4 separate regions of the Homo sapiens genome follow, and all the other regions are linked to region 4. The links are contacts of gene promoters, found by promoter capture Hi-C in blood cells and fetal thymus (Javierre and others, 2016). All regions are on one chromosome and are shown on one strand. The core of a region is centred on a gene start or on the middle of the fragment in contact, and the rest is flanking DNA. Distances in the headings are between cores, read along the strand shown.

Region 1 (2,856 bases), core at 44-2,543, 110 kb before region 4:
ATGCACTAAATTTATCTTTTTAACATGGATGAAGCTGGAAGCCATCATTCTCAGCAAACTATCTCAAGAACCGAAAACCAAACACCGCATGTTCTCACACGTAAGTGGGAGTTGAACAATGAGAACACATGGACATAGGAAGGGGAACATCACACGCCAGGGCCGGTCGGAGGGTGGGAGGCTAGGGGAGGGATAACGTTACGAGAAATACCTAAGGTAGGTGTCGGGTTGATGCGTGCAGCAAACCACCGTGGCACGTGTATACCTATGTAACAAAACTGCACATTCTGCACATGTACCCCAGAACTTAAAGTGTAAAAAAAGTCTATTTAATCAGTTTAATTTCCTGTTCATTTTCCATCAAATGTACTACCATCTATTCTTAATATTAAATTGTTTCAAAACTCATAAAGACTGAGTGCTATTCCTAGGTTTTCTAAAAAGTCCATTGAATTACTTTATTTTTCTCATTTTAAATATGGAAACAATCATATCTACATTATAAGAGTGGGTTGTATTTAAATGGGAAAAACAGTATGTAAGTTATTTAATATTTAAATATGCCCAGATAACTAGAAAATGCAATGTCAGGCTTATATTAAAATTTATCATTTGAGACAGTCTTTCTGACCAAACCATTTCAAATCCTTTTTTTTTTTTTGGCAATTATCCTGCTGTTGCATTAGTACTTACAGAATGGTGGTGGATACAAGAGATTTGATTCTGGAGATAGATGCACCTTGTTTGCAAACCAAAAGAATTTGGTGTTCATTTTTCATTTATTTTTCCTTTTGTGTTTCACTTTTCTTTCCTGAAAAAAATATCACCAATTTGTTCATTTTGGCCTGTGCAGTTTTTTTAAGCATTATTATTTTTCAGATTTTAACTTAAAACCAATATCAGACGTGTCAATTTATATGATCATTTGGTCATTATGCCTGTGAAGTCCTTGGGTGTATTTTTGTGACATATTTATATCAAAAATGAATTATGGCTATCCTTTTACTATGATTCTTACGTAACTTCTGAAATTTCTATAAAATAAATACCATCCAATAACAAGTAATACAATTATTTTTATAAACTGTTGCTAAAACAACACACGTATTCTCTCCTATGATCCTTGGAAAGTATGTGATTCAATTTGTAATACAGCTTCACATTAAACAGAACCCTCTTTCTTATATTTAAATAGTAAGAAATATGTTTTAGTCTTAAATTCAAGGTGAGAGCTTCTTAATATTTTACAAGTGATCAGATTCCTTTTCTCTTACCTTTGGAAATGAACTGCTCACTCAATTCAGGTATGCTATGAATATTGTGCATTTGAATTCTTATACCAGGCCCTTGAGCTCTAGAATTCCACAGGGATGCCCAAAGAAGAAAACACACTAATTCTCTTCTGGGATAAAACAAATTATGATTTTTTTTTTTTTCTGTAGTGAACAAGTAACTGATCTGGAACATGCATTACATGATTCCAATGATCACATAAGTGTACTTTCTACCTAGGTCCAAAATAATCCCCCAGTGGAAAAAAATATGCATATTACTGAAAAAGAAAGCTAATAATACAGGCCATAGTGCTAGCTCTGATTCTAATTATCTACATGCTATCAAATTAATAACTTAAATTCTCTAAAATTCAGTTTCTTCTTGAAATTATAACCTATGAATTATCTGGAAGTCCTATTGTCACATACATAATGAAATAATATGAAAACATAACCTATGACAAGACATATAATCATTTAATAAAGGTTACTATATTTATTTAAATTTGACAGTCCTCTAATTCTAAATGGTATGAGAGAGATTTAACTTCATTGAAAATTTAATAGGCCAGGTGCGGTGGCTCATGCCTGTAATCCCAGCACTTTGGGAGGCCGAGACAGGCAGATCACCTGAGGTCAGGAGTTCGAGAACAGCCTGGCCAACATGGAAAAACCCCATCTCTACTAAAAATACAAAAAATTAGCCGGGCTTGGTGGTGGACGCCTGTAATCCCAGCTACTGGGGAGGCTGAGGCATGAGAATTGCTTGAACCCAGGTGGTAGAGGTTGGCAGTGAGCCGAGACCATGCCACTGCACACTCTAGCCTGGGTGAAAGAGTGAGATTCCATCTCAAAAAAAAAAATTAATAGAGGAGATATTAATGCACATAATTATAAGGTAAATCTATGAATAGAGAATATTAACAGAAGAGTTAGGGCAATATGCAGATGTTCTATGTAATAATTTTCTGTGAACTAGAACATTAGACTCAGATATATGGCAGAGTTAAAGGTCAATTTTTTAAGTTCTGCGAGATCTTTTCTATCTTCAAGAATTGATATACTAATCTATATACTTGTTCTTTGATATGCACATAAGAAATTATCCAAAATGTGATGAAAAATACATGGATGATCAAAAGAATGAAATGACAACAGACTAGGAGAAAATACTTGCAAGGACACATCTGATAAAAGACTGTTATCTAAAATTTACAAAGAACTGTTTAAAACTCAATAGGAACACAAACAACCTGATTTAAAAATGAGTCAAAGACCTTAAAAACCACCTAAAATGGTCAAAAAGGCCGGGTGCAGTGGCTCGCCTGTAGTTCCAGCTTCCAGCCTGAAAGGCAGAGGTTGTAGTGAGCTGAGATTGTGCCTCCGCACGCCAGCGTGGGCGACAGAGCAAGATTCCGTCTCAAAAAAAAAAAAAAATGATTTTAAAAATGAGTCAAAGATACCCCATAAAAGATATACATATGGCATGTAACCATATGAAATTGATGCTCCACATCATAGGTCATCAAGGAAATGCAAAAAAAACAATGATATATCTCTTCATAACTAGAGTGACCAAAAT
Region 2 (2,813 bases), core at 101-2,600, 92 kb before region 4:
GGAAGTAACTCCACAATGAATGCAAAAACTTTTTATCAGCCATGTAAGCATTTATCAATTCCCAGGATTCTGTAGGATTCACTTACTAGTTATAAGTGTGTAACTGATTTTTACTTACTGTGAAAGCTGTTGTTAGTAGTGTGTGGTTGGTAACAATAACAATATATTTATATCAAATAATATTTAATATAGATCTCTGAACAAATTAATTGGCAAATATGTGATGCAATTTGTTTACATTTGAAAAATGCTGCATTGGCAGGCTGCTTAATGCTTTTTTGAAACTATTCTTTGATATGCAAATACTTTAACTAAAATATAGAGATGTGAACTCTGACACTCAACATTTTTTTCAGGTTTACTCAATTTTAAATATATTCTTCATTTGTAAACCAATTTCAACATTTTCTTCACTGCCTTTTTTACTTCTTTGTTCCTCAAACTATAGATGATGGGATTCAACTTGGGAATCACAATTGTGTAAAATATTGACACTATGATGTCATGGTCTGAAGCATAGCTGGAACTTGGTCTCATATAACTGACGAGAATTGTTCCATGATAAATTGTCACTCCAGTTAGGTGAGAGCCACATGTAGAGAAGGCCTTTTGCCTTCCCTTAGCAGAATGCATCTTCAGAATGGACAACAGAATGAAATCACAGGAAATGAGGACAATCAGGATAGTGACTATCTCAATAGAACCCACAAAGTAGAAGAGTAGAAGCTGGTTTGTGTGAGTGTCAGAACAAGAAATAGCAAGGAGAGGAGGCATATCACAAAAGACATGCCTAATTTCATTGGATCCACAGAAGGACAGGCTAAATGTAGCCACTATATGTATAGTAGCATGTAAAATGCCAGCAACGTAGGAAGCAGTGATGAGTGGCACATAGACTCTGGGTGACATGCTCACTGAATACAGGAGAGGGTTGTAGATGGCTACATAGTGATCATAAGCCATTGCAGCCAAGAGAAAACATTCTGTAGTTCCAAAAGTAACAAAAAGAAGCATCTGTGTTGCACATCCGATAAATGAAATGGATTTATTTTTTGCCAGGAAATTGACCAACATTTTTGGAGTGACAACTGTAGAATAGCAAGCATCCAAGAATGATAAAACACTAAGAAAATAATACATGGGGTTGTGGAGCCAGGAATCCTCAATGACCAACACAACCAGCCCTAAATTGCCTATCAAGGTAAAGAGATAGATTGCAAAAAATAGTAAAAATAGGAAGACTTGCAGCTCAAAATCATCTGTGAAGCCTGTCAATATAAACATGGTGACTTCAGTCTTGTTCTTCAGTGGATTCCTGTATATATCCAAACCTGATGACAACTTGTCCATTTCAGTTTTTACTTGCAGGTTATAAAGGTTATAGCCTGTGAAAGTGGAGTCCATTCAATTGTATCCTTGTTTTTTTCTTGGGGCATAATAATTTCCCTGATAGTAATGGAATAGACAATGATGAAGTAATTGGAGCCAAATAGATGAATTTCACTGTATAAGTAAAAGGAAAAAAAATATGTAATTAATTTCTTGGCTAAATTTATCATGTTTTTAAAAAACCCTGCTAATTAAAGTGATTTTATTTTCCAGTTAATTTTCAGTTGAAATTTTTACTGCTTCCTCTCATATTATGTCCTAAAGCTCACAAAGATTGCTGAATGTAGAAATATTTAAAACTAAATATGTTATAGTGGAAAGCACACACTTGAGTACACTTTTAGATTTGTGATGAAGTACATGAAATGTCTTTTGTAAATGTTCACAATTTTAAAATAAGAGAAACCACACTCACAGCACAGTTGAATTTAAATGTTTAAAAATATCAAAACTATTTAATTTAAAAGGCTTCCAAATGACTAGAAAATGGGGATAAGTCAGACATACATTTCAACTTGTCGCATGCAGCAGCCTTTTTAAATAAAACCATTTCATGTCCTCTGTTCTGGCAATTATCTTGTTCCATTACATAGAAGAGCAGACTGTATTCTGGAGATAGACGTACCTTTACAAACATTACAATGTGTTTTATTTTCAGGATTTTTTCTTCCTGAAATATATATCACCTAGTTGGCAAATTTTGGCCTCTGTACCTTGTTTATCATAACTGTTTTTAAATTTCAACTTAATAACAATGTGAGATATATCTTACTAATAATTCATATGTTTGTTATTTTTGCAAAGTCCTTGGATGTATTTTATTTTATTTTATTTTATATTTCTGTTAAAAATAAATCATGGCCATTCTTTTAGTATATTATAGTTGCTTTTAGAGTTTCTAAAATTACTATGAAATAAAAATCACCAATAATAACTAATAAAAATTATAGAATATCTGGCTAAAAAATAACATTACTATATTTGCAAGAAAGTAGTGTTTGTCCTCTGGACTTCTTTCCTGATGGTATCATTCTGTTTCACATTGACAAGTATGAAGAAAGACAATTACACAACCAAAAATAAATAAATAATTAAAAGAAAAAAGGTAACAAGGTTACAGGGACTTCTGTATCTAGACTGAAAACCTGTTATTGAAACGGTTTAGTACTACATACACTAAATTTAGAGGTAAAATTAGAGGGGAGATTTAAGCAAGGTGACTTTGTTTTTCTTTTATCATGTCATAGATTATGAAAGTTTTAAAAGGGGTGACAACTCTGTCATATGCAGGTCCATTCTGAATTCAGTGACTTACAAATGATTTATATTCATGATGTGAGACATACCAAAATTTTGTCATGTTAAGATGACCACACATTAAGAAGAGAATGAACAAATAAGACTAAAACCACTTTTAGAAAGAA
Region 3 (2,700 bases), core at 8-2,507, 67 kb after region 4:
AAAATTGCATGTTCTTAATGTAATAATTTTAAACATGTTTCAGTGTGATGGCATGCTTATATATGCATGTTCAGGTGCCTCTTATTTCCTTGTACATGTCTATGTCTGAATAATTTATATGCCGAATTGACCTCCAAATACAGTGAGTTAGTGGTCCATATAAACAAATGAAATAATAATTCAATTCACAAACTTCAAGACTCTAAGTTCTCATTTAGTTTGTGTTATGCTTTTTGAGGTTACTCTACTATTTTCCTAGTTGTTGGCATAACTGAATTCCTGAAGCCATCCACCTTTGTTTTAATTGTAACATACATAAATTTGTCATGGAAAAAGTTTTCTATGTATGACTCTCAGAAGAGCATTTTTCACATCTTTGTTCCTCAGACTGTAGATGAGTGGATTCAGCATGGGAATGACAATCGTATAGAATACAGATGCCACCTGCGCCTGGGTCAGCGATGATGTGTTATCAGGTTGCAAATAGGTGAAAATCAGAGACCCATAAAAGATAGTTACAGCCATGAGGTGGGATGCGCAGGTGGAGAAGGCCTTCTGCCTGCCTGCTGCTGACTGGATCCTCAGGATGGCTGAGATGATGATGATATAAGTGACTGTGATGATAAGGAGAGAGCTAAGAAGAGTGAATCCAGCTAAGACAAAGCTCACCATTTCTGTGCCGAATGTATCTACACAGGAGAGTGCTAAAAGAGCTGTGGTGTCACAAAAAAAATGATTGATGCTGGAATCACAGAACGCCAAACTGCTTATCACCCAGACAGATATCAGCGAGCTTGTGAAGCCTATCACATATGGCATTACTCCCAGCCAGTTGGACACTTTTTGGGACATGACTACTGAATACAGTAAGGGATTGCAGATTGCTATGTAGCGATTGTAGGCCATTGATCCCAGAAGGAAACACTCACAACACACCAATCCAACAAAAAAGTACATTTGAACAAAGCAGCCAACAAAGGAGATGGATCTCCGATTGGATTGGAAATTCACCAATGCCTTAGGTGTTACAGTAGAGGAGTAAAATATGTCAATAAATGCTAAATTGCTCAGGAAAAAGTACATAGGGGTGTGAAGCTGAGAATCCATTCTGATTAACGTGATCAGTCCCAGGTTTCCCAAAACAGTGAATAGATAAATGAAGAGAAACATCAAGAAAAGACTGACTTGTAATTCAGGGTGATTTGCAAATCCAGAGAGGATGAAGACGGTAACCTCAGTGAAATTGTTGCCAGCCATTTACATCAACTCAGGCCTTTGACTTACCTGCTGAATAACAATAAGGAAAGTTAGAGAAGGATTCAAATCTAAAGGCCCTATAATCAAATTTGACTTAGACTCCAATCATGAAAGTTTTACAAATGGAAAGTAAAATTTAATGACCTGAAGTTAGCTAGAGATTTACGGATAATTTTTATTTTTTATAAAACTGAAAACTTACAGACATTAATACAGAAAAAAACTCAAATTCACGATTGTGTAGACTAAAAAATACATGTCTGGAAAGATGTGTAGAAATTCCTCCTAAGATGTACCATTCTCTACCCCTGTCTGTCATTGGGTCTGGCAATTTATCTAATGAAATCAATTGTATCTAACAAATATAGCAAATTATCAAATGAAATTAATTGTATCTAATGAATATAGCAACTTATCTAATGAAATCAATCTGTATCTAATAAATATAGCAAGTTATCTAACAAAATGAATTGTATCTAATGAATAGAGCAGTTTATCTAATAAAAAATTCAGTGAGATAAGACCAAATGAGGGCCTTCATCTATAACATAGTTTAAATTCTTTCATGTATGTTTGTTCAAACAACATGATTGTTTCTAGATATATTGCATATATTAATCTATGACATCAGGTGCTAGCCAATTCATTGCTGAACAGCAGTTTTTAAGACAATGATATAAATAAATGTTAAAAACAGTAAAACAAACCTGATTTGTTACATTTAAAAATAAGAATTAAATTATAAGGTGGGCATGCTAGAAACTAAAGAACTTTATTGCCTAATTAACTTAACATAAATATATGACGAATAAATGCATTTGAAACTAGCCCGCCAAGCAAAGTTAAATAATCACCTTTGTTTAGACATTTAGCACTCTCCTTGAGTAACCAAATGGGACTTGATAATAATTATTATCAATAATAATAATATAACATATTATTCTTATTATATATCACATGTACTTAATCATTTAATGTGTTCCATGGTCACAGTGTTCCTATTTATCCATTCATTTACTTGACAAGCATTTATTCAATGAAGGCATTTTGTCTTGCCTGTCATGAAGGGCATTTTTCTTAAAGCCTAATGTAAGATGCAGACATTAAAAAAATAACAAGTTTCCCAATGTGAGAAACATGCAAACTATACTCACAGACAGACAGACACACAAATTTTAGGAAAAAGCAGATGAGAAAATTAGATGTACCTGGGATTCAGTCACCCAGAGGAAACATCCTATGTTTCAGCAATCTTTCACTTATTTTCAAGTTCATTATTTTTGCCTCATCTACAATGCTAAATATCAAATAACAAAAGTTGTTATTTAGTATAGAGCTCTATTTCCTGTATAATGGACCCTAAATGTTATGATGTTGATGAAAAAATGTTGATGGTTTTGATGATAGTATTAGGTACTGTATATATTACCTTTCATTGATAGG
Region 4 (2,838 bases), core at 295-2,794:
CCACAGTGTGGCTGTGGACTGCACCTGCTCCAAACTGTAGTTTTGGATCTTTAGGTGGGTTTTCAGAGTTTTCTACCTGAGGGATGTGCAGGCTAAAGCTGACATTCCATTACATTATAATAAATCTATTCTACATTAGATCTGTGGAAAATTCCGTTACTATTCCAATTGAAAGTCACTCTCACAGAGTTCCAGATTTTCAATGAGTGGAAACTGAAGGAGAGGGGAATTTAAGTGGAATAGGCTAAGACATCTTCACTATCTGTATCAGGGACGTTCCACTTTCTTTTATTGACTTCCCGTGTATTTTTTAAATAAAGGGAGAAGTACTTTTCATTGAAATAGTTTTAATTACAGTATTATATCTCCATGAATACTCCACTGTACAATTCCAGAAAAAAAGTCATTCACTAATATATGATGTCCTAAATTCTCAAATTATTTAAATGATTTATAGAACCTACCATCTTCACAGTGTTTTATTACAGAAAATAAAGTACATATAATTAAATAGTCATCACTGAATATTGATTTAAATCATGTTTTTGCAGAAGTGGATCCAGATTATGTGTCTTGAAGCTTAGAAGAATTTGACTTTTTAGATAAAATTACACATACAAGTTGAAAGATAAATGGGAATATTTATTTAGAATAGAAAATTAGCTTTAAATTGTAATTAGTAAACAAACCCATGGCCACAAACTATATAAAATTTATTAATATAGTATGTTAATTAATCAAATGCCAAATGCATCTCAGCATACAGGTGGCAAGAGTATCCTTAGAAGACATTCTTAAGTCAGAATAGGTAGTATTATTCAGTGATAAATATCATAGTGTCTGAATGATATAAACATATCCATTGAACATCAAATAAACTATTATTAACTCAATCCTTCTTTAGCTAGATCCCACAATGCTTGCAGAAATGTCAAGTCACTATGATATTAGTTGAAGTGTGATATACTAGAAGTTGGAATGAAAACAGAAAGCAGCCTTAATTGATCATGATTATTATATCTTACATTTGAAATTTTACAAAGATATATCATTTTTGCGTGCATTCGTAAGTCCCCACACAAGACCCTGGAAGTGCAAATGAGGGACCCCAAATCTTAACCTTCATTATCTTATTGCCATCTCTACCTCTGTCTTTGAGAATATCAAAATTACAGAAAAGTTTTACAACAAAAGTGGAAGTGAACAAAAGAAAATCATGATACCATTGTGCAGATGAAAAGAGCATAATCTTTTTGTAATAATACCTATATGGCTGTGTTATTAACCGATATACTTCAAATATTGATGAAACTATTTAATCTATGTTGTTTCAGTGCATGTATTTTACATGAATTCCTCTTTTAGGAAAGTAGAAAATTTTGCTTTATATTTCATTTCTGAATCAAATGTAGAAATAATGTTTCTATTATCTATTGTGAATAACAATCTATTCTGTCTACAAATATTATAATTTGTTTAAATAGCACTACATGGAACAGCTAATAACCCAACTGTTTCTTCCTAGAAGAGATAACTGGACTAAATGGGCCAACACAATCTAACAGTGCTAACTGAATTCATTCTGATGGAACTCACAAGGCGGCCTGAGCTGCAGATTCCCCTTTTTGGAGTCTTCCTCGTCATCTACCTAATCACAGTGGTGGGCAACCTAACTATGATCATTTTGACCAAACTGGACTCCCACTTACATACACCTATGTACTTTTCTATCAGACATTTGGCTTTTGTTGATCTTGGTAATTCTACTGTCATTTGTCCCAAGGTGCTGGCAAATTTTGTTGTGGATCGAAATACTATTTCCTATTATGCATGTGCTGCACAGCTGGCATTCTTCCTTATGTTCATTATCAGTGAATTTTTCATCCTGTCAGCCATGGCCTATGACCGCTATGTGGCCATTTGTAACCCTCTGCTCTATTATGTTATTATGTCTCAGCGACTGTGTCATGTACTGGTGGGCATTCAATATCTCTACAGCACATTTCAGGCTCTGATGTTCACTATTAAGATTTTTACATTGACCTTCTGTGGCTCTAATGTCATCAGTCATTTTTACTGTGATGATGTTCCTTTGCTACCTATGCTTTGCTCAAATGCACAGGAAATAGAATTGTTGAGCATACTATTTTCTGTATTTAATTTGATCTCCTCCTTTCTGATAGTCTTAGTGTCCTACATGTTGATTTTGTTAGCTATATGTCAAATGCATTCTGCAGAGGGCAGGAAAAAGGCTTTCTCCACATGTGGTTCCCATTTGACAGTGGTGGTTGTGTTCTATGGGTCTCTACTCTTCATGTACATGCAGCCCAATTCCACTCACTTCTTTGATACTGATAAAATGGCTTCTGTGTTTTACACTTTAGTAATCCCCATGCTTAACCCTTTGATTTACAGCTTAAGAAACGAAGAGGTGAAAAATGCCTTCTATAAGCTCTTTGAGAATTGATGTCAACTTTGTGTTTAATAATCAATTTGTAATATTGTTATAATAAATATATAATATAGATTAATGTCACTTGATAATTTTTCATGTGTATATAAATTTTCCAATTTTCAAATTTTTTTAATTGTTTTTTATTTCAATAATTTTTGGGAAGTAGGAGGTTTCTGGTTATGTGAATAAGTTCATTGGGGTAATTTCTGAGGTTTTGGTGCACTCATCACCTGAGCAGTGTACACTGTACTCAATGTGTAGCCTTTTATCCCTCGCCCACACTGCACACTTTTCCCTGTGTCCCCAAAATACATTATGTCATTCTTACCTATTTGTATCCTCATAGTTTAGCTCCCACTTATAAGTGAGAACATATGATATTT

What was found. Contacts are between HindIII fragments. The CHiCAGO score rates a contact against its expected background, and 5 or more counts as called.
Region 1: a contact is called between the fragment with the promoter of OR5T1 here and the fragment with the promoter of OR8K5 in region 4, in 16 of 17 cell types (neutrophils, M2 macrophages, total CD4 T cells and 13 more). The highest score is 16.1, in neutrophils.
Region 2: the fragment with the promoter of OR5T3 here is called in contact with the fragment with the promoter of OR8K5 in region 4 in 17 of 17 cell types (neutrophils, total B cells, M2 macrophages and 14 more); the score reaches 34.9 in neutrophils.
Region 3: the fragment with the promoter of OR8I2 here is called in contact with the fragment with the promoter of OR8K5 in region 4 in 13 of 17 cell types (neutrophils, naive CD8 T cells, total CD4 T cells and 10 more); the score reaches 17.4 in neutrophils.

The regions. Positions count from the first base shown.
Region 1 is chr11:56,272,591-56,275,446 of GRCh38, reverse strand. It overlaps OR5T1 (olfactory receptor family 5 subfamily T member 1), which reads right to left and starts at 1,293. Exons shown (of 3, transcript NM_001004745.2): 1 at 1,275-1,293; 2 at 694-811. The HindIII fragment of the contact is 3,205 bases long and covers 1-2,856 here.
Region 2 is chr11:56,250,791-56,253,603 of GRCh38, reverse strand. It overlaps OR5T3 (olfactory receptor family 5 subfamily T member 3), which reads right to left and starts at 1,350. Exons shown (of 1, transcript NM_001004747.2): 1 at 382-1,350. The coding sequence starts at 1,350. The coding sequence ends at 382. The HindIII fragment of the contact is 3,630 bases long and covers 1-2,813 here.
Region 3 is chr11:56,091,865-56,094,564 of GRCh38, reverse strand. OR8I2 (olfactory receptor family 8 subfamily I member 2) reads right to left here and starts at 1,257. Exons shown (of 1, transcript NM_001003750.1): 1 at 325-1,257. The coding sequence starts at 1,257. The coding sequence ends at 325. The HindIII fragment of the contact is 14,451 bases long and covers 1-2,700 here.
Region 4 is chr11:56,159,023-56,161,860 of GRCh38, reverse strand. It overlaps OR8K5 (olfactory receptor family 8 subfamily K member 5), which reads left to right and starts at 1,544. Exons shown (of 1, transcript NM_001004058.2): 1 at 1,544-2,467. The coding sequence starts at 1,544. The coding sequence ends at 2,467. The HindIII fragment of the contact is 6,274 bases long and covers 582-2,838 here.